Linked DNA regions of Homo sapiens: regions 1 and 2 are each linked to region 3. The links are contacts of gene promoters, found by promoter capture Hi-C in human tissues and cell types (Jung and others, 2019). All regions are on one chromosome and are shown on one strand. The core of a region is centred on a gene start or on the middle of the fragment in contact, and the rest is flanking DNA. Distances in the headings are between cores, read along the strand shown.

What was found. The method cuts DNA at HindIII sites, captures the fragments that hold promoters and counts their contacts. A contact is called where the count stands out against the background at its distance.
Region 1: a contact is called between a fragment that was not itself captured here and the fragment with the promoter of ZNFX1 in region 3, in 2 of the 25 tissues and cell types used here (aorta and dorsolateral prefrontal cortex).
Region 2: a contact is called between a fragment that was not itself captured here and the fragment with the promoter of ZNFX1 in region 3, in 1 of the 25 tissues and cell types used here (hippocampus).

Annotation. Positions count from the first base shown.
Region 1 is chr20:49,696,812-49,699,511 of GRCh38, reverse strand. All of the region lies in intron 1 of B4GALT5 (beta-1,4-galactosyltransferase 5), which reads left to right. Among named protein-coding and RNA genes, the nearest start is that of B4GALT5, 16 kb to the left of the region's middle. The HindIII fragment of the contact is 5,555 bases long and covers 1-2,700 here.
Region 2 is chr20:49,661,702-49,664,545 of GRCh38, reverse strand. All of the region lies in intron 1 of B4GALT5 (beta-1,4-galactosyltransferase 5), which reads left to right. Among named protein-coding and RNA genes, the nearest start is that of B4GALT5, 51 kb to the left of the region's middle. RefSeq lists an enhancer at 2,320-2,614. The HindIII fragment of the contact is 3,209 bases long and covers 1-2,844 here.
Region 3 is chr20:49,276,759-49,279,458 of GRCh38, reverse strand. It overlaps ZNFX1 (zinc finger NFX1-type containing 1), which reads left to right and starts at 1,402. Exons shown (of 14, transcript NM_021035.3): 1 at 1,402-1,438. It overlaps ZFAS1 (ZNFX1 antisense RNA 1), which reads right to left and starts at 1,281. Exons shown (of 4, transcript NR_036658.2): 1 at 743-1,281; 2 at 251-355. SNORD12C (small nucleolar RNA, C/D box 12C) reads right to left here and starts at 514; the gene lies at 436-514. RefSeq lists enhancers at 698-897, 773-1,067, 825-1,325, 1,326-1,826, 2,168-2,227 and silencers at 988-1,347, 1,398-1,627. The HindIII fragment of the contact is 7,798 bases long and covers 1-2,700 here.

The sequences.
Region 1 (2,700 bases), core at 90-2,589, 420 kb before region 3:
CCTTGAAGATAAGGGAGGACTGCTGTATGATTCATAGCACAGTTTCAGATTAATCATGTCCGATGCAGTCAGATGCTTGATGGTTATATGGGGCCTGGTTTGTGGGCAAATGACTAGTGGGGTTTTTTTTTTTTTTTTTTTTTTGCCCATTTAGGATTCAAGATGGGTTTTAACCTTTTAAGTTACAATTAAGCACTTTGTGTCGTACAGTATGTATACAATAATGCTTTGAAATGGCTAGTCATGAATGTATTAATGGTTTGTCTTGCACTGAAACCTGAAATGTAGATGAAAAAGTTGATAAACATAAGGCAATCAGTACTGATTGTCATTGTCATCTACCCCAGTACATTCTAAGTGTGGTAGATACAGTAATTCTTATATGTTGCTATTAACGTCATTTCTGATTTTTGATTAGAAAAATATTTAGGTTAATGGCTTTCTTGTTGGTTTCAAATTTATAGTAAAAGCTATACCTTTATGTCTTGAATCTGCTTGCCAGTCTTTGCTTTGATAGGTGGTTTTTGCTTAGGCTACGATAAATTGTTTCATCTTTTCTAAAGAGGGATGAGGAAGTATTTACTTTGTGAAATTGGAAAACCGTGTGGTTGGTGTGGAAAATAAGCATGTTATTAATAAACAGCTAGTCTTGTGCTCCATACTCTTGGATGTAAGGTAGAAATAACCTTGCCTCTATTGCTGAGATTTAAAAAAATAAAAAGCTAGGCTACTACCCGTGCCTTCCTCGTCCACAACACAGGCACAGGGTGGCAGGTAGTGATGAGAAACAGGCTGCCAAGATGGTCCCTGGATGACTAGGAGGTGTGTGATGTGCGTCCAGTTGTCTGGATGGGGCAACTGGAATCCTTCATTGTGTGGTTCATGCTTGTGTGTGTGTGTGAATGCGAGAGTGGGAGGAAGTTCAATGTTTTGGCTTTGGTGTGGGATTAATTTTCTCTTCGATTGTTAATTTGGCATACCTGACTTTTTCATTCTGGTTTAAAGTATTAGAAATCTTAAGATTTGTGTGAATTAGAAGATTGGGATTTATTTGAATTTCATTTGGCACTAGGGAAAATTCACTTTAGGTAAGAGCTACTTTTTGGGTTGGCTTTATGTTCAAAGCAGTTTTTTCCTTAAGAGTTTCATTTTATTATGGAAATTTTCTTTTTTCTTTTTTTATTTTTTTGAGATGGAGTTTTGCTCTGTCCCCCAGGCCGGAGTGTGGTGCCACCGTCTCGGCTCACTGCAACCTCCACTTTCCAGGTTCAAGCAATTCTCCCACCTCAGCCTCCCGAGTATCTGGGATTACAGGTGCGTGCCACCATGCCCGGCTAATTTTTGTAGTTTTTACTAGAGATGGGGTTTCGCCATGTTGGCCAGGCTGGTCTTGAACTCCTGACTTCAGGTAATCTGCCTGCCTCTGCCTCTCGAGTAGCTGGGATTATAGGCATGAGCCACCGCGCCCGGCTGGAAATTTCCAAACATATAAAAGTAAACTTAATAGTACAGTATAATGGACCCCATGAACAAAAGTAATTTTTCTAACCTCAAAAGCAGGGGCAGTTTATTTAATCAGGTAAAAACTGAGCCTTAAAAGTCAGACTTTGCTAAAAGAAAACAGTATTTTTTTCACTGTCCTGAATATAACATTAAGGAAATAGGATTTGGTTAGGTCTAGATAACATTTAATAATTTCAACTGTGTTAAAGACAAAAGTAATTTTTGATGTGACCATGGACTTGTCATGAAAAATATAAAGGTGAAAGGGATTCCATCCCCCTTCCTCTAAACAGAATGGAACATAAGCACAGGTTTAGGCTAATTCATAACCTGGATTTTTAAAGCTTTTACATAGTTGGGTTTCATGTTGTTCAGATGTCTTACTAAACCAGGTATCTAAATGAGTGTTTTTCTGTTAAAAAAAAAAAAAAAAGGACATGTCCCCTTCCTCTGCCATCCCTTAATCACGGGGCTCCACTGGAATAGAGATGGGCGGATAAAGAAGGAAACTTAGTGTTAGCAGCTCCAGTGAACTGGTATGAGGTAGAGGAGGGTTGAAGCCATTGATCACAGTGACGTTTCCAGAGGATTTAAGCTTTCCCATTGTCCCATCCTTCATTTGAACCCTCAGAATGTACAGCCAGAAGTCCAAGAGCAAGCGTCTCTGCGAAGGGTAAACCTTCCAGGCTGTGCTCCCTCAAAGGCGCCGCTGCGCTTGAGGAGCAGGTGCTGTGGCTGCTGAAGTCAGGTGCTCTGGGAGCAGACAACAACTGCCTGGGTGTGTAGCACCTGTGTCCTTTTGGCTCCCCTGGCCTTGTCTTCTGAGACTCTGTTGTTAATTTCTTTAGCTGTTTATGTCAGCTTTGACCAAAGCCCACTGCAAAGCTTAGAAGGGTAAGGAGGCAACAATATCCCTTTGAAGACTTATTTTGGCACAGATTTTGTGATTTGTGAATAGTAACATTCCTCAGTAGCCACAAATTAAACAACATCGATCTAATTTTGGTATTAATTAGTTGTATAATTAAAATAGTAAAACCATCTGCATAGATTGAAGCTATAGTTTCAGGTTGTATTATATGTGTGAAAAACCGACTCTTCATTGTGAATTTTGAGTAGACTTCCCAGTAGATTATTTATGTAAGCTGTGTCATCAGAAACATTCCAGAATGAATCACGTTTAATTAGGATCTAACA
Region 2 (2,844 bases), core at 29-2,528, 390 kb before region 3:
GCCCCTGCTTTTTTTTGGTCCAGATCAGTTATTTTGTAGAATATCCTATGTTCTTTCAGCCTGAAGAATCTAAAGTGTGTGTGTGTGTGTGTGTGTGTGTGTGTGTGTGTGTGTGTGTGTGTGTATTTGGAGACCTCATCTCTAAAAAAATATAAATGTTAGCTCTGTGTGTGGGGGCATTCCGCTGTGGTCCCAGCTCCTCCTGAGGCTGAGTTGGGAGGATCACTTGAGCCCAGGAGTTGGAGGCTTCAGTGAGCCATGTTCATGCCACTGCACTCCAACCTGGGTGACAGAGTGAGATCCCAACTCTTAAGGGATATTCTAGATTTATCTTCTTGTTTTCTCTTCAGTAGATTAGCAAGAATATTATATAGGAAGTAAATATCTTACATTGCATTAGGAGCCTGGAACTGTAGGTTGTTCTAATATTGGGGTTGCTGAGTTGAGACATTTGGTAAAGGGATGACCTGCTAGATCTTCCTCTTATGCAGCAAAATTACAAATGTCAGTTGTGATCAACATGTAATTTGTGGGGTGGTGCATTGAATATGTGTTTTGACTATCCTCTTCAACAACCCTTTCACCTGAGGGTTTTAGCATCCATTGATTTCCATGTCATGATTATGACCCAAATATGACTGTAATCAACAGACCTGCTAAACAGAGTTCCAGATTCTTTACGGTTCTTTTTGTCCTTACAGTATATCTCTCAAAGAATGTATCGGAGTACTTTTCCGTTGGTTGTGTTTTCAGTACAATGTATTATTAGAATTATTTGTTTGTGTTTGTATTTAGTTTTAGGGTTTGCCCATTTTTCATATATATATATATATATATATATATATATGTATATATTTTTTTTTTTTTTTTCTTGAGATGAATTCTCACTATGTTGCTCTGGCTGGACTTAAACTCCTGGGCTCAAGCCAGCCTCCTACTTCAGCCTCCCAAGCAGCTGGGACCATAGGTGTGTGCCACCATGCCCAGCTAGATAATTTTTTTAATACGTAAATGTCCAAAATATAAAAGGTGTACTCAGGCCTCAGTCCTACCCCTTCATTTTTATTAGTTTCTGGTTTACTCTTCCTATGTTTTTTTTTTTGTAAAAATATGTGAGTGCATATCAATTTCCCTTTATTAAGTAGCATAATATGTCTTGGAAGTCAATTCATGGGTTTTGCTCACCTTATTTTTGGGGAAGGTAAATTTTGTTGACATATAACATTAAAATGTGTACATGTAAGCAAAAAGCTTGGTGAATGTTTAGAAAATGAATATATCTGAATAACCAGCATCCAGGTTAAGAAATAAGATGACCAGAAGCCACCTTCAACTCTCCTGCACTCCAGGGTAGCCATTCTCCTGACTTTTATGTTGTAGATTAGCTGTGCCTGTTTTTGTATTTTATCTACATGGAATCATACCACATGTGTTCTTTTGTGTCTGGCTTCTTTGTGTCACATAAAGTGTGAGAGATTCATTCACGTGGGTGCATGCAGTTCTAGTTTATTTATTCCTGTTGCTGTATAGTATTCCAAAATCGGAATAGGCTACAAATATTTAATCTCTTCTGAGTTCTTTCTAGTTTTGGACTATAACAAATGTTTTCTCATTCTTTTTTATGGTCTCATGGTACTCATCCATGGGAGTGAGTATAAAAATGTATTCAACCAGTCTCCTTTGGATGGTCATTTAGGCTTTTTTCCCTAGTGTTTTTCTACTACAAATATTATTGCACAAGATTTTGAATAAACTTGTGCATTATAGTATGGAACATGTTTTTAAAAGCTTTATGAGGAATGAGAGTAACAGAACATTTTGGGGGGAAAGCTAATCTTTTTGGCAGTGCTGCTCAATTGGTGGAAAGGAATGACTGAGCTTTTCTTAGGAACAGGTTAGTGCAGTGAAACTGGTTAACTTACAGTATTTTGGGTTCCTCTCAGAAAGGAGGAGGGGGCTAATGCAAAATAAAGAGAAGGGCTTGAAATCCATCTCCATGCCTCCTGGAGCACAGCCAAGTTCAGAAAACTCTATATTGTCTCAACTTATTATTATTATTTTTTAAATTCAGATATTTATTATGCATCCTCTGTGTTCCCAACACACCATTCTAGCCACTGGGGGTACAGCATTAAAGGAAGTAGGCAACAGCCTTGCCCTAATGGAGCTCACATTCTTATGGGGGACAAGATAAATTTTAAAATATGTTGTATGTTAAGTAGAAAACCAAAGCAGAGGAGGGTGATTGGTGTTTGGGTGTGAGTGTGTGTGTGTTGTATGTTTGCATATGTTGGGGGTGAGATACAGATTGTAAAAAGTGGTCAGGAAGGGAATGGTTTCTTTTCTGGTTCTGAACCCTCTTTTAGCTTACCAAGCCAACCACAGCAAACATTAAGGATACACATTAAGGTTCAGTGAGAAAGGAGGAGGTTTTCCTGTTAGAATCAGAAGCAGAGAGGAAGAAAGGCACCATTGTGTGGCCAAGAGGTGGCTGAAGGGCAGGAAACCCAGTCCTTCGCCCCCGGAAGCTGTCCAGTTAAGCCATGGCCCAAGGCTGCTAACACTGGCATCTGAATGGAAATTTCTAATTGTGTAGACCTGAATGGGGCTTATTTTTCTCAACTGAATTATGGTTATATATAAGAGATCCCTCCTCCTAGATATGAGGCTGGATAATAATTACATTGTCTCATGAAAGTGTAAAACAAATTATTAGTAAGTGTGAATTTGTGTTAAATGTTGTCGCATTTACCACACTGCATTGTAATTTGTTGAATTTTGTCTATACATTACTCATCTATTCAGCGTTGCCTTATGCATACTTGGCCTCCAGTGCCCTCGTAC
Region 3 (2,700 bases), core at 153-2,652:
GAGTCAGGGTTTCACCATGTTGGCCAGGCTGGTCTCCAAATCTTGACCTCAGGTGACCCATCTGCCTTGGCCTCCCCAAGTGCTGGGGTTACAGGCGTCAGCCACAGCGCCCGGCCGTCAGAACACTTTTTTAAATACCTAATAAATGCTCGATAGAAAGTGCTTTGTTAAATCCCACGTTTTCCTAGAAAACTAAAGCTTCTCAAAGCACGTGTTTTCTACAGTAGACCCATAGGAGACAAAGACTTACTCGTCAGGAGATCGAAGGTTGTAGATGTCTGCACGTGGCTTCCTTGGAGGTCCAGTGGTGACTCCCTCTTCCAAAATCCATTCTGTACCCGCTGGCTGCTCTAACCTGTGAACCAACAAATAAAGGGCGTTAACCGCCATCTTCCCACGGTCAGAAACGAACAAGGCCGGGCCTTTTGAGGCCGATGTATCAGAACTAACTGGCAAAATATAAGACGTCAGCATTGTCGATCTGATGGGGAAAAAAGTGAAGTCATCATTTACACCAGCCAAGGGCTTCTCAGGCCCGTGCAGAAGGCAGTGGCTTTTCCAGCTCCAGAAACTCATTTCTCCCACGCCCTTAAGGCCTATTTGGGGTCAGAGACGGAGAAGCCACGAGAAGGAGATTAGGGCTGGCCGCAGAGACGACGGCACAAAGAAGGGAAGGGAGGACCAGAGGTCTCCAACGAAGAACATGGAGTTTCCACTCACCACACACAAAACGGGAACTTACGGGCAGGACAATAGCGTATGAAGCCTGACTGCAACTAGGAGAAGTACCACACTCCGGGCACCGCAGACGCGAAAGAACGAATGGCTTCCTGAACCTCCCTTATATAACCAAAGATGGCTTTCGCACCTGCGCACTGGACCCGAAACGCTCTCTTTCCCGCCCGCTCCGCGCGCGTCGCTCTGGGAAATGTAGTCTCGAGCAGCACAGCCCGAGGCGCTCTAGTAGTTGTCCAGGCCGCGTCTAGCCCCGCCCCCTTCCCTCTACACGCCGGGCCACCCGGGCTTGTCCGCTTCCTCGCCATGTCGCGCTTCACACGCACCAAACCGCTCGACGGGTTCCCCTTCCTCTGGGGCCGGCTGAGGCCCGCAAAGGCCTTGGGCGCAGTCATCTCCCGCCCCCCGCGGTCCGCTCCCCTCAGCCGCGCCCGCCTGAGCCCGCCGGCTCCGCCGCCGGGGGGAGCTGAGGTGACGCCCTCCTCGAGGGCGGAGGCGCCGGCCGTGCCTGGGCCAGGCCCTCGTGCTCTCCACCCTGGGCCCCCGCCTCCTCCTTCTCCTCCTCTGGGCCGCCCGCCCGGCTCCGCCCAGGGTCTGCGGGGAACGGAAACCGAAAGTGCGCGGCGCCGGGCGGGGCCACCGACCTGCCTGGGCCGAAGCCCCAGCACTCGCCGGCGGCAGTGAAAGGACGCGCCGGAGCCGGGTGAGTGGCCCCGCAACTGCCCCTGCCCCTGATTCTTCCTTGCCTCGCCGCGAACCCCGGCGCCCGCGCCGACCCGCCACTGCCTCTGCCCGTAAGACCTGTCACCCTCTCAAGCCCCCAACGCACCCGTCACCCGCTCAGAGCCCCTGGCCCCTCAGCGCCCCGTCGCCCCCTCAATCCCCAGACCCCCATCACCCACTCAGAGCCTTGTCACCTCTTTGGCCCCCAGCGGCATCAGCACCCACTCAGAGCGCCTCTCAGCGCCCCGTCTCCCCCTCAGACCCCAGACCTCCATCGCCTACTCAGCGCCCCGTCACCCACTCAGCCCCTGGCCCATCTCAGCGCCCCGTCGCCCCTTCGGCTCCCCTGTACTCTCTTTAGTGTCCCCATCCCCTCAGCTGGCCCGTCGCTCTCCCCAGCACCCCCGACACCGTCACCGCTTCTGCCCTCAGCACTTCGATCTCCTCTGCCCCTACCCCTGTCTGTGCCCTCCCTTCTGCCACTCGCACCCCCCTCATTCCTCCGGCCTCACCTCCTGTCACCTTATCAATCCCCCTCTTCTACAGAGCACCTCGGCACCCCCTTCAGCCTGCTCCCTGCCCCCACCCCGCCGCCTCCGTCCTCAGCAAGCACCCCCTGGTGCTCGCTACCACCCTCTCCCCAAGGCCCCCATAACCCCGCCACCTCACAGCCTTGGCGCTCCCTGACCCCATAACATTTCCATTAGGGACCGTGGGCTCCCTGGGTCAGGGATTCCCCAGGACCCTGGAGACTTCCCCCAAACCCAGCTCTGCCTCCGACCTCAGCCTCCTGCGTCCCACTCTGGTGATGACTAGCCCCTCTCATTCTGACTCCAGGCCAGCTTGATCATCACTGATTTTCTTCTTCGTGCCCTTTAGGCCTTGATTCCCCCCACCAAAAAAAAACACTTCAGTCTGTTTTCGATCCCAGCATTTCCTGTTCATGTCTACTCCTCCCTTCCTTCCCTTGCCTTTTTTTTAACATCTTTTTTTCTTTTCTTCCGTTTCTTTTAAATTTTCTGGAGTTTCTATTTTAGCATTTTTCAACAAGGGGAAGAAGGAATTTTCCCCTCGGAGAATTGAAAATAAACAAACAAACTCTAAATACTGAGCCTGCGCCAGGAGGGCTGGGTTTGATAAGATGAGGGAGGGGACTCACCAGAGATATTCCCAGGGGGAAGAAAAGAGACTCCTTTTTCAGATGAGGAAAAAAGCTGCCCCTCATATAATGCCAAATGTAGT